Linked DNA regions of Homo sapiens: region 2 is linked to region 1. Evidence: promoter capture Hi-C in human tissues and cell types (Jung and others, 2019). All regions are on one chromosome and are shown on one strand. The core of a region is centred on a gene start or on the middle of the fragment in contact, and the rest is flanking DNA. Distances in the headings are between cores, read along the strand shown.

Region 1 (5,592 bases), core at 1,959-4,458:
TCAATTTCTAGACTCACATCCAGAAAGTCTAATTTTGTTTGCCTGGATTGGGGCTCAGGTGTCTTCATTTTAAAACACATTTCCCCCAGGTAATTCTAATGCAACTTGTACAGGAACCAGAGGCTGAGAACACTCATCTAGACTGAAGCATGTTTTGTGGTGGGTGTGGTGTTAGGGGTTTTTCTTGCTGCAGCTAGTCTGGAAGACACACAAAAAAGAACGTAGTTCTGCCTATTAAGCAGGTTGGGGCTGGGCATGGTAGCTCATGCCTGTAATCCCAGCATTTTGGGAGGCTGAGGTGGGTGGATTGCTTGAGCCCAGGAGTTCAAGAGCAGCCTGGGCAACATGGTGAAACCCCGTCTCTACAAAAAATACAAAAATTAGCTGGGTGTGGTAGTGTGCACCTGTAGTTCCAGCTACTTGGAAGGCTGAGGTGGGAGGATAGCTTGAGCCCGAAAGGTCAAGCTGTAGTGAGCTGTGATCATGTCATTGCACATTCCAGCCTGGGTGATAGAGCAAGACTCCGCCTAAAAACAAAAACAAAAACAAAAACAAAGCAGCAAAGAAGGTTGGGTGGCCTTGAGGTCTGACCTAGAATCTAAGCCCTAGATAAAGATGGAGGTTCAAGTTGGCCTAAGCACTACCAGACTTTTTGGAAAAATTGCAGCCAGCAATGAGTTCTTGGGCCCTCCTTCCTAGAATTGCATTTGCGCCTTAAAAATTTTGGTAACAACTTGACTAGTTAATCATCTGAGGGAGTAAAAAATTTTGGTGTTACCTTCTCTGGGGCACTGACTTCTGCATCCTATGCTCTGTGAGCCCCATCCTGGGATATGGTCTCAGCTCTTGGATGTTGATATGTTTAATGACATATAGGGCTATATTGAGGAAAAATAATACCTACTCTGGCAAATTGTTATAAGGATTAAATGGGATAATACAGAAAATAACTAGCTGAGGATCTGGCATATAATGAGTCCTTAGGAAGGTGAGGGATCTGCCTGTAGTATCTATCCACCTTAAGGGTCTCCACAGTAAATCTGTGAATTTGGTTCATAGGGGCCATGCCCTCCTTTTCTATCAGGGTTCTGTAAACATCCCTCTTCAAGCTAGAAGGGGTTTGAAAAGGACAGACAGGAGAAGCTTGCTCTTTGTTCAACAGCGTACGAGGAAGAGGTGCTCAATACGTTGTTTTTTTCTTTCTTCTATGTATCATTTTAAAATCTCCACTTTTCCGTTCTTCGCTAGCCCTTTCATCAGCCATTTTTTTTCTCTCTCAATCTCTGTGTACACACACATACACACATACCCACACCACGTACACATTTTAAGGCCTCCCATGACCCAGAGACCAAAGCCAGGGTTCCAATCTTTAAAGTCCATTCCTGGGGTGCTCTAGACTTTGCTTCTCTTCTCCCATGGTCTCATATTTCAATTTATTCCTTCTCCTTGATTAAAGTTTAGAGCAGTTCCCTTAATCTGCTTACTCTTTATATGTTTTAAAAAGGCCCTTTTCCAAGTTGTTGCACAAGAAGAAACCTTCATTTTCTGCTTAAAAAAATTTTTTTTTGTTTTTCTTTTTTTTTTAGAGATAGGGTTCTTCCTATGTTGACCAGGCTGGTCTCGAACTCCTAGCCTCAAGTGATCTTCCCATCTCGGTCTCCCAAAGTGTTGGGATTACAGGTGTGAGCCACTGCGCCTGGCCAAAAAAATTTTGTTTTTAGTATTTATTTTTTAGAGACAGGACCTTGCTCTGTCACCCAGGCTGGAGTGCATGGCACGATCATGACTTACTGTAGCCTTGAACTCCTGGGCAGACACAATCCTCCCACCTCAGTCTCCCAAAGTTAGGGTTACAGGGTTGAGCCACTGAGCCTAGCCTGAAACTTTCATCTTCAACACACTCCTGGTCTCTCCCATCTTTCCTATTAGTTTTCCTAGCTAAAAGCAGAGTTCTGACAGCTTTTCCTGGCCCTATGCTGAACACACATAAAATTTCCTCAATTTTGTGCAAGGCTCTGATGTGTGATTCAATAAATTACTTGCCATTCTTAACAATACCTTACTGTTTGTTTCTCTTCAGCGAATGTTCTTTCACCCAAAGCCTACTGAAACCTGACAATGTGTTAAACACTGTGCTAGACATTGTGGATATAAAATGAATAAAGCACTATTTTTTATTTGTCAATTATACCTCAATAAAGCTCTTTCCGCCTAGGAGGAGTTCATTGTCTGGAAAGCAAAGGCAGATATGTAAACATATATATTATAGTTCAGAGTGCTAAGTATCACACTGTGATGTGAAGAAAAACTAATTTCTTCTGGGGAAGTTGATAAAAGATCTCATAGGAAGTGACATTTTCATTGGTCTTGAACCATAAGTAGGAGTTTGCCAACCAGAGCACAGGGGTGAGAGTGAGGGCAGGGGTAAAATAGGGCTTCCAAGGGAAGGGAATCCAGTGTGCAGAGGCTCTGAAATGACCGACGAAGATTCTGACGTGTTTAGGGAAGTCTGCTGGGTTTGATGTGGTTTGGTGCATGGCGGAGTGATGGTGGGAGGTGCAAAGAGATGAAATTGAGAGGGCCCAGTTGAAGCAGGAGGATTGAACTTTATTCTAGAGGCAATAAGAGAAAGAGAAAACTGTTTAAGCAGGGGAGGAAACGATCAGGTTTGTCTCTTACTTGTTCGTTTCGTTACAGACTTCCGGGTTTTGGAAACTGAGGTGCTCCGCTTGCTTCATCAGAACAGCTCGGGTAGCCTCTGAGCTGAAACACGGCTTTTTTTTTTCCAGGTCTAGAAACGGCATGTTTTCAATATACCCAAGGCTACTAAGTTTGATCCCAGTGCCCATTTGTGCTAATGACGTTGGCCAGGGACGCCAATTTACTACCCTGACCCTGTCCTTCAAATATTGTCTCTCTCTCCTTGGCTAGGGTTGGACATGTTCTGACACCTTTCGTCTCTTTGAACCCCATTTTTCCGTTCTGATAATCTTTTTCTTCAGTTATGCTGACCATGTCTTTAAATACATTGCTAACGTTTTAGCTCATCCCACCCTACGTTTTAATCCCTCAGATGCAGACATCGCGGACAGCCACGCCCACTCAAGAAATTTCCGAAACAGAAAGTTTGTCTGCAACAGCGCGCCGTACTGACGTAGCAGTGCGCAGGCGCAGTCCCGGCTCCTGGCGGCGTGTTCCTCTTTTCCTCGGTTCCCAGTGTTCTGGCAGGTAAGGAACGCCGGCTCTTCGCCTCTCAGCGCGGCTTGTCCTTTGTTCCGGACGCCCGCTCCTCAGCCCTGCGGCTCCTGGGGTCGCTGCTGCATCCCGCACGCCTCCACCGGCTGCAGACCCATGGCCGAGCGCGGGGAACTCGACTTGACCGGCGCCAAACAGAACACAGGAGTGTGGCTAGTCAAGGTAATGTTCGCGAGTCTCCCACTTGCGCTCCTCCTAACACAAGTATAGTTTAAGTAACTTGAGCCTATCCCGCTCCGTGCGCCTCTTAAAGTTCTTTTACGGCTATCTCGTTAGAGCTTCACACATTTTGAGAGGCAGGAGTCATTGTTGTATCTGTTTGCAGACGAGGAATTAGTTTAGGGACGCAAAGTGTCTTTCAGCCAGTTACTACTCTGAATCTGCCTGGACTAGATCTCTTTCTCACGGCTTTCCTGGAATCTTGTCTTGGTGTCCCCAGATTTGGACGGTGCATTTTATCCCAGACTGAAGAATTCCTTGTATCTTCCCTTGGTGAAACTGGTTTTAGCCATGAGCCTGCGTGAGGTAGTTGAATGTCTACTTTCTGTACAGTTTTCTCGGCCAGAAAGTAGGACTGGTCCCTGCCTACTCTTAAAAGTGTTCTCTTAGGTTGATGGTCCTTAATGAAGCTCTCAAAAGAGGCGAGAGAGCCCCAAACTCACAGAAGGAGAGGTCATTGGACTGGAGTATTCTTTTAGAGCACATTTGGGTCTCGTGAAACTGGCCGTCAATAAACGTTTTATGTGAAGACAGCAATTTTGGTTAGCTCACAGTAAGCACTATTTGTGCTTTATTGTTTCATATTGGGGAGTGTTTTCTCCTAGGGGAGTTTCATAATACTTAAGCATATTCAAAATGTGATCCTGAAAGTCGTTGAAACTTAAAATGTAAGGACTTTTGGTTTCTTAATGCTTTAACTGTTTTATCACATGGCTGAGTTCTCGTCAATTAAATCTAAGAGGTCTTTCTTGTCGGCCTTCCTAAAACAGCCCCCTTGTGATCATTTGCTAACACGACAGATGTGTATTACATTCTTCAAAGCACTTTTCACAGTGTAGAGTGATTTTGTGTTCATATGTTCAAAGTTGGTTACCTCTGTCTTTCCAACACACAGAATCACATTCCATGAGAACAGGATCTTTGCCTGTCATACCCAGAATAGTGTTTGGCGCATGGTAATTACTCAACAAATAGATGATGAATAAATGCATGACCTCTCATTCTTCAGCCCTCGCCTTAGTCTGTGGCACTCATTTGACTTATTTCCAAACTCAGTGTGACTTAAAAGGATGGATTAAATAGGCATTTCTCTCTCCAGCAGCATGTTACTTGGGGGGAGAGTCACTAAGGAGGAGATTGCCCTTACGGACTGAAGGAAAAAGCTTGAAAAAATGGTGTGACTTGAGATGGTGCCATTGTCCTAGGAGCATGGTAAATGCTCAATGTTTGTCTTACAGGATTTGGATGGGTGGACACAGTGTATACCATGGGGAATGGAACAGAAATGCAAGACTCAAAATATATAATCAGCATGGCGTGTTGTGGAAAACAGAGAGAACCTAGAGCAGAAGATCTGTGTAGATGAAGATGGGGACCATATACTCAGATTGTCATATCATGAAACGGAGATATTCTAACTTTAGTTTACAAGGAAGTAACGAACTTTTTGGAGGATTTGAGTGAGGTAGAGATGCCAGATATTTATTCAGGAAAAAAAAAAATGTTTGGCAGTGTGCAGTACGAATTAGAGGGGAGGGTAACCAGAGTCACAATTAGAAAATTATCACAGGATCGGGCTGGGCATGGTGGCTCACGCCTGTAATCTCAGCACTTTGGGAGGCCGAGGTGGGTGGATCATGAGGTCAAGAGTTCGAGACCAGCCTGGCCAATATGGTGAAACCCCATCTCTACTAAAAATACAAAAATCAGCCAGTCATGGTGGTGTGCGCCTGTAGTCCCAGCTACTTGGGAGGCTGAGGCAGAAGAATCACTTGAAACCGGGAGACGGAGGTTGCAGTGAGCCGAGATTGCTCCGTTGCACTCCAGCCTGGGCAACAGAGCAAAAATTCCTTCTCAAAAAAATAAATAAATTAAAAAAAAGTGTAATTTGTTGCTTAGAAAGTGTATCTTCATTCTCATCTAATCAGAATTTGAATTGAAGTACATATTGATTTCAAGTTTTTTCTCCTTACATTAATTTTCCTATTAAAAATAATACCTTGAGTTCTGATCTTTGTTGCTAAATAATGTTTCTTCCTAGGATATCTCACGGTTTATAGATCATCTTGTACATATTTAATTCCATCACTAGACAGGTATAGAACTGTGTAAATA
Region 2 (5,217 bases), core at 1,905-4,404, 1.2 Mb after region 1:
ACCAGGAGCTTTGGGTACCAGGCAGCACCTCCATCATCAGACTCTACGAAGATGGAGTTTCAGGTGGTCCCCAACAGCTAATCTGATTTCTCCACTGTGGGCATGGACAGTAGAAATGCAACCATTACTCTTAAAAGTTGTATAGTACTGATCTCATTTATCATCTGTAATTTGTCATTAGTTTAAATGATCTATCATTTATTTAAAATGATATCTAGTCTATATGGTAAAATTTACAAAGAAAATTTTTGAAAATTATTCTAATCCCACTATACAGAGATAATCACCACCACAATATGATGAAATTCATTATAGTCTAGCTTTTCTTAGCTAGACTTTTTTATTTTATTATATTTTATTATAAAACAGTATTCTCTTTTGTTAAGAAGAATGCAAGCAACTGTGGTAGAGAGGTAGGTGAAGACAATACAGTGACTACTGAATTTAGATATTGCTAGTGACCTTGACGGTTTGGGTAGAATGGTTGAGATGGAAATGCTATTGTTGTAGGTAAAGGAAGAAAGAGGTGTGGAAGCGATGGCAAACATTAAAAACTGTTCTTTCAAAAATGTTGCTGTGAAGAAGATCATAGAGGTAGAACTGGAAAGGAATGTGAGGTTAAAGAATTTTTTTCTCTCTGCATATTCCTTTATTTTTTAATGTAAGGAATACTAGATAATATGGATAACTCAGAGGAGTAGAATAGTTTTTGATGTCTGCATGACTGTTATGGACTGAATATTTATATCTCCTCAAAAGTCATGTGTTGAAGACCTAACCCCCAATTGTGACAGTATTAGGAGGTGGAGCCTTTAGGTGGTGATTAGGTCATGAGGGTGAGGCCCTCACAAAGGGAATTAGTGCCCTTGTAAAACAGACCCCAGGGGGTTCTCTCTCTCTCTCTTTTCCTTTTTCTTTTTTTGGGGGCAGGGAGGGGGGACCAAGTCTCACTCTGTTGTCAGGCTGGAGTACAGTGGCGTGATCTCAGCTCACCGCAACCTTCAACTCCCTGGTTCAAGCGATTCTTCTGCCTCAGCCTCCCGAGTAGCTGGGATTACAGGCACTTGCGACCACACCTAATTTTTGTATTTTTAGTAAAGACTGGGTTTCACCATGTTGGCCAGGATGGTCTCAATCTCCTGACCTCGTGATATGCCTGTCTCAGCCTGAGGCATATATCTCAACTTTGGGAGTGCTGGGATTACAAGTGTGAGCCACCGTGCCTGGTCCGCTCTCTCTCCTTTCTACCATGTAAGGATACAGTGAGATAGTGCCATCTATGAACCAGGAAGTGGTCCCTCAATAGACATCAAATCTGCTGTTGTCTTGATCTTGGACTTCCTAGCCTCCAGAACTGTTAGCAGTAAGTTTCTGTTGTTTATTATCCACCTAGCGTAAGGTATTTTATTATAGCAGCCTAAACAGACTACGACAGTGACAAACCTGTTCCCTCAGTACTCATCCCCTGGACAACAGGTATCAGGACATCTTATGTTAGTCAGAGTAGGGTGGGTTACACTGTAGGAACCAGCCCCACAAAAATCTCAGGAACTGAACAAAATAAAGGTTTATTCTTGCTTGTAAAAAGTCCAATGCAGGCACCGCACTCCTGAGTAGTTCTATTTCAAACAATCACTCAGGGAGCTGGGTAGGGCCCTCAGGAATGTGGACCTTCAGGGGCTGCAGGAGCAAAGGGAGAATAAAGTCTCTCTCATAGCTTCCAAGAGACTTTCAAGGGCAGATAGAAAGGATCAAAGGCTGCCAAAAGTTCAGAGAGCTGTCCCCAGTAGAATAATGAGGTAAATGCAGATATCAGAGTGTAAGGAGAAGGGAGCATGTGTGTGCACGTGCAGTACGCTGAAGAATGGGCAAGATCGGGAGGGAGATGAAAAGGGGAAGCGCCCACCACTCCCATCTGCAGAGCCCATGCAAGAGTACAAATACAGGTCCACATGCCATATATCCAAGTATTTAAAATTTGAAATATGTTTTATCTTCCTACCATGGTGAATATCCCTTCATCAGGACCCGAGAAAGCAGGTTTGAATTTTGAAATCTTTGACTCCTCACTGCTCTGCTCTGGAGCATGGTGGCTCAGGTATAGCTAGCATTGGGCCAACCCCTGCCCCTCTCTCTTCCCACTTTGGCTCCATCCTACAAGCAGCTGCCCCTTGGCTGCCTCTTGGTCTTAGCAGCGCAGTTCACTTTCAGGAGGCTGGACCAGGGGAAAGACCTGAGCAGCCCTAAAAGTGGGGTTGAGACCACAGGGCAGGGGATTCTGTCTGGGGCTCCATTTGATCTAACAGGAGGGGTGGGGGCTTTGGGTGCGCTTGCCCTTTGTCTCCTCACCAATGGGGATGTACGTAGCCCGAGGAAGGCCAGAGCAGGGCCTCTTTCCAGGATGAAAGGGCAGTCCTGATCCCAGGCAAGGGATGCAAGAAGAACAAGACCATGGAGGCAGGAACACGGCAGGACTAGAAAAGAGGGGGCAGCCCTGGGGAGAAAGAAGCCTGGAAGCACAAGCAGAGGCCAGAAAATGTTCAAGGAAGGGCTGGGCGCGGTGGCTCACACCTGTAATCCAAGCACTTTGGGAGGCCGAGGCGGGTAGATCACTTCTGAGACCAGCCTGGCCAACATGGCGAAACCCCGTCTCTACCAAAAACAGAAAAAAATTAGCTGGGCATGGTGGCACATGCCTGTGGTCCCAGCTACTAGGGAAGCTGAGGCAGGAAAATCGCTTGAACCGGGAAGCAGAGGCTGCAGTGAACTGAGATCACGCCAACTGCACTCCAGCCTGGGCGACAGAGCGAGACCCTGTCTCAAAAAAAAAAAAAAAAGTGCAAGGAAAAATACACAATTTGCTTAACCTATGTGGTTAAGCTCTTCAATCCTCAGTCCCCTTGGCTTGGAGAGCTGCCCAGATATGCGAGGATGCAAAGGTTCTCGATTTCTCATGTTTGTGCTGAAGCTTCCCAATTGTGTCTGCAGCCTGCTACCTCAGCATTACTCATAAAAGTATTGTTTTAGTTTCTAGTGAAGTGAAAAAGGGGAACTACGGTTTTCCTTCCCATACCAGTTGAGAAATTATTTAAAGACAGAGATCCTTAAATGCTTGTTTTAAGGAAGCACGCTTCTAAAAATGACACACTTCACCCTCCTTTGGCGATGAGTTCAGGAAGGCTTCCTGCAGGTAGCATCTGACGGTGGCTAAGCCAGCCATGCAGGCTCAGACCTGGGGGCAGAAACTGAATGTCAAACCCCTTCCTGACATGTCTACCACGTTCCTTCCAGCAGGTTTGAATTCCGAAGTCTCAGACAAATGACCACACTCTGGGTGGTTTAAAACAACAGGGTCAGGCGCAGTGGCTCAGGCCTGTAATCCCAGCACTTTTGGAAGCCGAAGCAGGCAGATCACCTGAGGTCAGGGGTTAGAGACCAGCCTTGCCAACATGGTGAAAACCCGTCTCTACTAAAAATACAAAAATTATCCAGGCCTGGTGGCGTGCGCCTGCAATCCCAGCTACTCGGGAGGGTGAGACAGGAAAATCACTTGAACCCAGGTGGCGGAGGTTGAAGTGAGCTGAGATCGCACCACTGCACTATAGCCTGGGTGACAGAGCAAGACTCCATTTCAAAAAAACAAAAACAAAAACAAAACAAAACAAAAAAACCCCAGGAATTTATTCTCTCATAATTCTCAATGTCAGAAGTTTGAAATCAAGGGGTCAGCCATGTTGGGTTTTTTTTTTAAGGCTCTGAGGAAGAATCTGCCCCCTGCCTCTCTCCGGCTTCTGGGGGCTGCCAGCAATTCTTGGTGCTCCTTGGCTTGTAGATGCATCACCCCAACCTCTGCTTTTTTTCTTCCCTGCATCTTCTCTCTTCTCTCAATTTCCCTTTTCTTATAAGGACACCAGTCACTAGATCAAAACTCATCCTAATGCACTATGTCCTCATCCTAACTTAACCACCTCTGCAAAGACCCTACTTCCCAAAAGGCCACAGCACAGACACCAGCATAGACCTTTAACATATTCTTTCATGGGACACAATTCAACCCACAACAGTAGCTATTGTTCTAATCCTTGTATTACAGATTATAAACTGAGACCCAGGGAGTAACTTACCCAGAGATACAGAAAATAAGGGGTATGACTCAGTTTGTAATCTGTCTAGACCTCATTATTACCATTTGCCCTTGCTTGTACCAGGCCTTTTAGTGGGTGCTTCATTTTCATTTCTAATCCTTATCTCAACTGCAGAGAGTCATATCCCTCATTTTACAAACAGAGGCTTAGATAATTTAAATGGCTTCCCCAGTGTCTGAGTCTATTTGTGTTGCTATAAAGGAATACCTGAGGCTGGGTGATTTATAAAGAAAAGAGGTTAATTTGGCTTATGGTTCTGCGGGCTGTACAAGCATCGCACCAATATCTGCTTCTGGTTAGGACTTGTGGCTGCTTCCACTCATGGTGGAGGGGAAGGGGAGCCTGCGTGTGCAGACTCCCCTTGTATGGAAACAGAGGAGGCAAAGAGAGGGCAGGGAGGTGCCAGGCTTCATAACAACCAGCTCTCATGGGAACTAAGAGTGAGAACTCACTCATCACCACAAAGGTGCCACCAAGCTATTCTTGAGGGATCCACCCGCATGACCCAAACACCTCTTATTAGGCCTACCTTCAACACTGGGGATCAAATTTCACCATGAGGTTTGCAGGAGTCAAACAAGCCAAACTAGAGCACCAAGTCACCATGGGTAGGTAGAAAGTGGCATATTTGGGATCTAATCTGAAGTTGTGGCCAATAATTCTCACCCAGGTCAACACACCAGACATCTTTGGGATGGCTTGCTCCTCCTCATCCTATAGCCTCTGCCTTGAGATGGTGTAACTTCCTCCCTGCAGTTGAGAATCATGACTGTAAATGACACACTACTGGAATTGCCCATGTGAAGAGTGCAGAGGCAGAAAATGAATCACTGACCTTTACAGCACTGCAACTGATGCCTCACAGTGGGTAATGGTCTGACCAAGCATTCATCTTCTTTCCGGCAGCCAAGGAAGAGTTGAACAGAAAACCCACACAATCAGGAAGACCCATTAAACAGCTATATATGCCACAACTAATTACTTCCTTATGGGGTGCTCCATGTGGGCTGAAGATCACTTCCCTAACAGGTGCCTTCCTGGGAAGAAGCCTCTATTATCACATTGGAGAGGA

What was found. Contacts are between HindIII fragments. The study calls those that stand out against the background at their distance.
Region 2: a contact is called between a fragment that was not itself captured here and the fragment with the promoter of GTF2F2 in region 1, in 1 of the 25 tissues and cell types used here (lymphoblastoid cells).

What each region holds. Positions count from the first base shown.
Region 1 is chr13:45,117,302-45,122,893 of GRCh38, forward strand. It overlaps GTF2F2 (general transcription factor IIF subunit 2), which reads left to right and starts at 3,209. Exons shown (of 8, transcript NM_004128.3): 1 at 3,209-3,420. The coding sequence starts at 3,355. RefSeq lists enhancers at 2,839-3,482, 3,243-3,372, 3,483-4,124. The HindIII fragment of the contact is 5,168 bases long and covers 164-5,331 here.
Region 2 is chr13:46,336,226-46,341,442 of GRCh38, forward strand. RUBCNL (rubicon like autophagy enhancer) reads right to left here. Exons shown (of 15, transcript NM_025113.5): 15 at 1-5,217. Among named protein-coding and RNA genes, the nearest start is that of LINC00563, 41 kb to the left of the region's middle. RefSeq lists an enhancer at 2,887-2,966. The HindIII fragment of the contact is 3,450 bases long and covers 1,430-4,879 here.